Regions from separate parts of the Homo sapiens genome. Here region 1 is linked to region 2. The links are contacts of gene promoters, found by promoter capture Hi-C in blood cells and fetal thymus (Javierre and others, 2016). All regions are on one chromosome and are shown on one strand. The core of a region is centred on a gene start or on the middle of the fragment in contact, and the rest is flanking DNA. Distances in the headings are between cores, read along the strand shown. Region 1 overlaps SH3BP5 (SH3 domain binding protein 5). Region 2 holds the start of METTL6 (methyltransferase 6, tRNA N3-cytidine).

What was found. The method cuts DNA at HindIII sites, captures the fragments that hold promoters and counts their contacts. A CHiCAGO score of 5 or more calls a contact.
Region 1: a fragment that was not itself captured here is called in contact with the fragment with the promoter of METTL6 in region 2 in 1 of 17 cell types (monocytes); the score reaches 5.1 in monocytes.

Annotation. Positions count from the first base shown.
Region 1 is chr3:15,295,005-15,298,529 of GRCh38, forward strand. The region is part of intron 3 of SH3BP5 (SH3 domain binding protein 5); the gene reads right to left. Among named protein-coding and RNA genes, the nearest start is that of SH3BP5, 36 kb to the right of the region's middle. The HindIII fragment of the contact is 3,996 bases long and covers 252-3,525 here.
Region 2 is chr3:15,426,139-15,429,696 of GRCh38, forward strand. METTL6 (methyltransferase 6, tRNA N3-cytidine) reads right to left here and starts at 1,406. Exons shown (of 6, transcript NM_152396.4): 1 at 1,264-1,406; 2 at 149-497. The coding sequence starts at 373. It overlaps EAF1 (ELL associated factor 1), which reads left to right and starts at 1,460. Exons shown (of 6, transcript NM_033083.7): 1 at 1,460-1,744. The coding sequence starts at 1,642. RefSeq lists a silencer at 1,377-1,540 and an enhancer at 1,537-1,816. The HindIII fragment of the contact is 9,714 bases long and covers 1-3,558 here.

The DNA.
Region 1 (3,525 bases), core at 1,000-3,499, 130 kb before region 2:
CTTGTGCTTCGGAGTGTGCACAGTGTGTCCTTCCCCTCAAGCCTTTCCCCTCAAGCCTTCCTGATGGGCAGCATCTCCCGCCAACACACACACACACAGTGACACACTCCCTAGCTTCTTCCCTTTGCCATCTACATCAGAGCCACATGGTTCAGCGCACTAACAAATAAGCCTCTCCATGTGGCTCTTGGCAAATACAGTCAGTCCTCATTATTCACAGCTTCCGTATTTGTGAATTTGCCTACTTACTAAGCTTTATTTGTAACCCCAAAATCAACACTTGCAGTGTTCTTGGGGCCATCCATCGACATGCACAGAGTGGTGAAAAAATGAGCTACCTGATACATACGTTTCTAGCTGATGTCCAACAAGAAGCCACCCTGCCTTCTTGTTTTGGCTCTCATACTGTACACAAGTGTCCTTTCCTCGGTCCTTTTAGTGCTGTGTTTTTGACATTTTTGTGCTTTTTGTTGATGATTTTTCTCTATAAATTGGCCTCCAAGTATAGCAATTAAGTGCTTTCTAGTGCTCCTAAGTACAAGAAGGCTGTGATGCGCCTTATGGAGAAAATGCTTGCGTTAGATGAGCTTCGTTCAGGCAGAAGTTATACCACTGTTGGCTGTGAGTTCAGTGTTAATGAGTCAACAAAACGACACATGCAGAAAAAGGAAGAGGAAATTTGCCAATCTGAACATGAGTTCACTCAAGTAAGTGCTAAAGTAACATCCGCTGTGCATGACGAAGCTATGGAAAAGATGAAAACATGGCTGGATTTGTGGATTATCTGGCACTAAGCCTGAGAGGTCATGACAGATTAAAAAAGCAGAGTGGACAGCATCATCATGAGGCTAAGAGCCAAAGAAGTTTATAGTCACATCACCCAGAGTCAGGAGAACATTCAACCCTTTGCAGCTAGTGTTTTATTATCAAGAAATATTGCATATAATTGATTGTAAGAAACACACTAAATAAGGGGTCTTTAAACAGAAACACACATATAACAAGGTTATGTATTGATCAGCTGACAAAAATGTTGTGACCAGAGGCTCTCAGGAACCTAACCTCTATTTCCCCTAGGAGCAAAGCCTTGGTACTTGCTAATTCAGTGTCTGTGGCAACTTTATAGAATATGACTACCACAGATAATGAGAACTGATTGTATTTACCTCTGCCATAACACCACCTTCAAGAAGATGGGGCTCCTGGAGGATACAGACCAACTGTATACTCCACAGTGGCCACTGCAGACAAAGGGGAGATGCTTTTCTTTGCCAATCCCCTGACCTGCTATAATCCTCCCACAGTCTCACTCCATACCTCAAATGGGGAAATCATATACACACACACACACACACACACACACACCCCTATCCAGGTCAGTAACAAAGATTCTACTTTTGCTCAAAACAGCCCATCCCACACCCTTTTATAAGACTGCCATGAGGGGAATGTCAGCTCCACAAGGACAGGATCTCTGTTCTATGTTTGATAGGTCAACAAGTGGCTAGAACAATACCTGGCATATGGTAGGTGCTCAGTCAATAGCTACCGAAGAAAAGAAAATAATAAATTTTTTTAAATCCCCACACAGACATGTAAAGTAATAACCTACATTTGACATATCCTTGAGTTTATATCCTACCTTTGCAGAACATCAGCCTCTCATCCTCCACTTACGAAGTGTTTTTCCTTTTTTTTTTTTTTTTTGAGACAGGGTCTCACTCTTTCACCCAGACTAGAGCGCAGTGGTGCGATCACAGCTCCACGCAGCCTTGACTTCTCAGGCTCACGCAATCCTTCTACCTCAGCCTCCTAAGTAGCTAGGACCATAAGCAAGCACCACCATGTCTGGCTTCTTAAAAAAAAAAAAAAAAAAGAAATGGTGTCTCACCATGTTGCCCAGGGTGGTATTGAACTCCTGGGCTCAAGCAATCCTCCCACCTCAATCTCCCAAAATGCCAGGATTAGAGGCATGAGCCACCACTCCTGGCCATGGCAGGCTTTCTACAAACAAAATCAATGCCTAGAATTTCCCAACAAAGGATCACTATAATACTCTGTTCCTCTAGGATTAACATAATAGTTCAGGAGATTAATTGATATGCTCGACCCATTTCATTTCATTCAAAACACGATTCTCCATCCATTCAAGGCCCATGCCACACTATCCCTTTGGGCACAGAGTGCTTTTGATCAGTCAAAAGGTAAGTCAGCTACTCCCTCCCTCATCATTTTCGATCCTCCAGCACATTCTGCCCTCACAAATAACTCACTATGTACTCAACCTACCTGGGCTCACTCTTCCACCTGGCACAATCTCTCTATCTTCCATAGCCCCCTCCCAGCCAGGAGAGGCCTGTTTCCTCTTCTACCCACAGGTTCTTTGTGGTGGTGATCTTTTTTTTATTACAAGGCAGCAGATTCACCAGATACTCAACATTTGATAGAAAAATACATCTAGGATAATCTTACATTTATTGGATCCAAATGCTTTACATGTACTAATTCAATCGCTGTAGTAAATTGCAAAAGTAGCTAGAATAAGTTGCAGGTAGACTTTATCGTTCCCAATTCTTGAATTTGGACTGGCCCCATGACTGACTTTAGCCCGTAAGATGTTAATAAACATGAAACAAGCAGAGGCTTGAAAAGGGCTCACCCTTTTTGTTGCTGGAATCTCAACACTGTATGAAAATGACCAGGCTAGCCTGGTGAATGAAAGATACACGTGGCCTAGTCACCCCTGCTACCCTAGCTGACCACCAACCAACTGCTTGACAGATAAGGCCAAGGTCAGCCAGCCCCCAGCTAATCCATCAACTGACTGTATATGTGAGAGATCAGCTCTAAGCCTGAGATCAGAAAAACTGGCCAACAAAACCATGAGCTAAATAAATGTTTTAAGCCATTAAGTTTTAGGGTGGTTGGCTTCATAGCAAAAGCTAACTGATATACAACTTTTCTTTTTCTTTTTTTTTTTTTTTTTTAAAGAGCCAAGGTCTCACCCTGTCCTCCAGGATGGAATGCAGTAGCACAATCATAACTCACTGCACTCTGGAACTCCTGGGCTCAAGCAATCCTCCTGCCTCTGCCTCCTGAGTAGCTGGGACCACAGGCATGCACCATCATGCCTGGCTACTTTTTGTAGAGACTGGGTCTCACTACATTGCCTAGGCTGGCCTCGAACTCTTGGCTTCAAGCAGTCCTCCCGCCTTGGCCTCCCAAAGTGCTGGGATTACAGGCCTGAGATCCCTCAATTAGCCAACTCCATTTTATGGATGAAAAAAAATGAGGCACAGAGATTAGGTAACCTGCCAAAGGTCCCACAGCTTTTAAGAGGTGAGCCTACAAGTCACTCTACAAGTTTCAAATGTTTTCCCACTCATCTCCTTTCCTAAAGGAGGTTATATGTAAGACATGGCCTTATATAGCCCCACAGACACAAAACAGGCAACTTTCAGCACTAAATAATCCGCACTATTTTGCATTTGTGCTGCCCATCAAGTTTGCAAAGTGCTCTGCTCT
Region 2 (3,558 bases), core at 156-2,655:
TCATGTTGGCCAGGATGGTCTCGATCTCTTGACTTCGTGATCCGCCTGCCTTGGCCTCCCCAAGTACTGGGATTACAGGCATGAGCCATGGCACCCTCTTCACATTTTAAATGAAGAACAGCTCAGATAAGGCGTAATATTAGCTTACCTCTCTACATGATCTTAGCTCCTCAAACTCTCTGGTGGTCCAGTGTCTGTCTTTGAAGAAATTAGTGCTATTTCTTTTGTAAAAAAGATCCCAATTTTTCTGAGCCTCTTGTTCCAATTTCTGCTGTTTAAAATCAGACACCAAAGTTTGGTCTCTTTTCAGTTTCTCCTCTTCTTCAGAGGTGAGAATCCTTGCCTGCAGCCCTTTCCTTTGCAAAGAAGCCATCTCTGAAACTGACGGTAACACTTAACACAGCTGAAGATTCTCCATCACCAAATAATATGAATCCACGCTAATGGATCAGATACATTTCCTGAGGTGAGTTTCACGCCTCAAACAGCACAGGGGGCTTCGCAGAGAAAAGAATTAGATTCTGGTTAGTGGTTACAGTTCAAGACGCCAGGTTCAATTCACCAAATGTTTATGAGATGCAGACTGTACAAAAAAAAATCCTTCCCGCTATATGAGAGGTCACAAAGAAGACAAACACACAGTCCCTACCTTCAGTGGGCTTACATTCATTTCAGTGGCCAGACTATCTCATGCACCATACTTTTATTCAAACCAGATGAGTCAACTATTACAATAAATCGATTTAGTTTACGAAAAAGGACGCTCTCAAGAACTGACTGGGAAACCTTGCGAAGAAAATATTCCTCAATTTTCGGTGCCCGCGAAAGGGGTGACTTAAAAACCACAATGGCCTTAGCTGGAAGCGGGTGGTCAATTGTCAGATACAAGTGAGGTCATCGTTTCCCAAGGGTCGGACCTCCGTTTTTTCGGGGGAAATGAAGCTAAGCCTGGGTGGGCTCATTTCCTGATCACACTCACAAGAGGCTGTCATAGGAACCAGAGGGAGCGTCACTTTGCAGGGACTGAGACCCTCGCACCGCCATCACCGGGCAAAGTGGAGAAAGAGACCCAATGACGCGTGGCTGAGGTCCCGAGGATCCATCTCAGGACCCTCAGGATAGACTAGGCTGCATGGGCCCCTAGACCCTGAGGAGGGCGTCCATGATGGCTAGCCGACCCGCGTTAATTTAGTCAGCCACGCTCAGGGCTCACCGTCATCAGTTCCTAAATTCACCTGCAGGGCTAGGGCCAGGCGCACTCACCCCACAGCCAGCCCCACTGGGCCTCGGAGGCAGAATACGGGAAGAACCGCGAAACAACCCTAAACCAATTCTGAGGACCACGAATTCGGATTATCCGGGAGTTCTTTTGCCATGGCACCGCCCCCGCCACTTCCGCTAGGAACCCGGAAGTTCCTACCCGACGCCGGAAGTCCCACGGCCTTGCCTCCTCAGATTCCTCTCTCACCCCCACGCAGAGGAGAGAACTTGCTTCTGGACCCGGGTGGGTGCCGGCTCGGCTCTCCTTGTCTTCCAGAGCGGTGGCCCGGAAGCACAGTCCTCCCAGACGCCAGCGCCAGAAGCTCGGATCGCGGCTGCACCGGGAGAGCGCCGATCTGGGTGCGAGGCAGGTGCGGGGCCATGAATGGGACCGCAAACCCGCTGCTGGACCGCGAGGAACATTGCCTGAGGCTCGGGGAGAGCTTCGAGAAGCGGCCGCGGGCCTCCTTCCACACTATTCGTTGTAAGTCAGCGCTCCCCACGGTTCCCTTCGGCCGCTCCAGCCGCCACATATCAACCTTGACTCCTTCCTTTCTTCCCTCGGCCCTTCAGATTCCAGGGAACCCCCTGCCAGCGTCAGTTACTTTCTCTCGAACCCCAAATCCTTTGGGACATCGATTTGTCCCTTCTTTTACCCAGATTATTTCTCCCAAATCTTCGTCACTCCCTACTATTCTTCTACCTCACAGTCTCAAACACTAGTTCCAAAGGTCTTTGGCCTCTTTCCATTTCCATCCCTCCCCGCCCCCAACCTCGCCCCTAAGGCAAACCTCCCTCCCCCAAGGCAAACCTCCCCCCTCTTATCCGGGTCCACTTCTCCCTCGAAACCCCTCCCCTCCTTTCCGATGCTCCCATCAGGGTTCTCCACATTTAAAAGACGCTTCTTGTTTGTTATGAGCCTCATCCACTGCCTTAGAACCCATTCTCTTCCCTGCTTTTCTCCTCCGACTTGGTCCTGGACTCCCAAATACTGTGCTTTGTCCCCTCTACAGCCAAAGAATTGGCATCCTCTCTGCGCCTCATCAGAGTCTTCTTCCATCTCCTTTCTGTGCTTCATTTGACTTGGATGTCTTTTGAGGTCACCTATACCACCCGGGCTTTTCCTCCAGACCAAGTTCCTTGTGGGTAAAGAGTCAAATCAGAGTTCGTGAGCCTGGGATAGGTTAAAGATTGGTCTACGTTTGGAAGCAGAAGAGAGCAGGCGTAAGGAATGTCCAAATAGTCATTATGCCGGACCTTTTTCTACATAATTATAGACGCTGTTGAGAGAGTGCACTTCCACCCTATGTCCTGGGTGAAGGTTTGGCAGTTAGGAATTGGCTGACAGAGCATCCCTCCGTGATTCATGAACTTCTGGTTTCCGTGGTGCTAACGCTGTTGTTAAGACTTGTTTTTGTCAGAGGACCTAATAGATGTGACTCAACACATGTGAAGAGGGCGTTTTAGATAATGAAATCCCATCTTTGTGTAGTCACTTGCCATGCCATTGCTATGCTTCCTACTGACAGCAGATCCAGCTCTTTCAGAGAGAAGAGATGGGAATAAGATAAGAACATCATTTCCTGAAGAGTTTACTAAGTTGATGTTTTCTTTTGGTGAAGGGCAATGTGGAATTTAAATCATATAGTTCATGTGTGCACCTGTCCTGCAGTTTGAGGCAGGTGTGAATGTGAATTAAGATGGCTATTATGTTGTATTCTAACTGCAGTTTAGAAACACGAGCAGGATAACTTGCGGAGATACAGTTCAGTTGTCTGCTATGAACATCTACGAAGTGTCTTTGTTAAAGCTGTGGAACTGGCTGAGAGTGGTGGCTGACACTATAATCCCAGTACTTTGGGAGGCCGAGGTCGACAGATAGCTTGAGCCCAGGAGTTTGAGACCAGCCTGGGCAGCATAGTGAGACCCCATCACTATTAAAAAAAAAAAAAAACAAAAAACAGCTATGGAACTTGAGTATGGCAAATCCTAATTTTGACAGTTTCTATGCGGAATGAAATCAGCTTTTGATGATGCTGTGGCCTTTCATATTTCATATAGAGTTTACAGTCACAGAATCTGTTTCATATGCTGTTACTTTTGATCCTCACAACCCTAAAAAAGCAACTTATTATGGATGATGAGACAATTTTCCTCTCTCCCTTGGGAGAAGGGAATATCTTTGTTTAATAAAATGGCCTGTAAATTCTTTTTTCCCTCTAGAATAATCAAAAGGGGGTCAGAGGAAAAGTATGTGGAGGTGTAGATGAAACAAGATTGTCCCTGAGTTGGTAATAA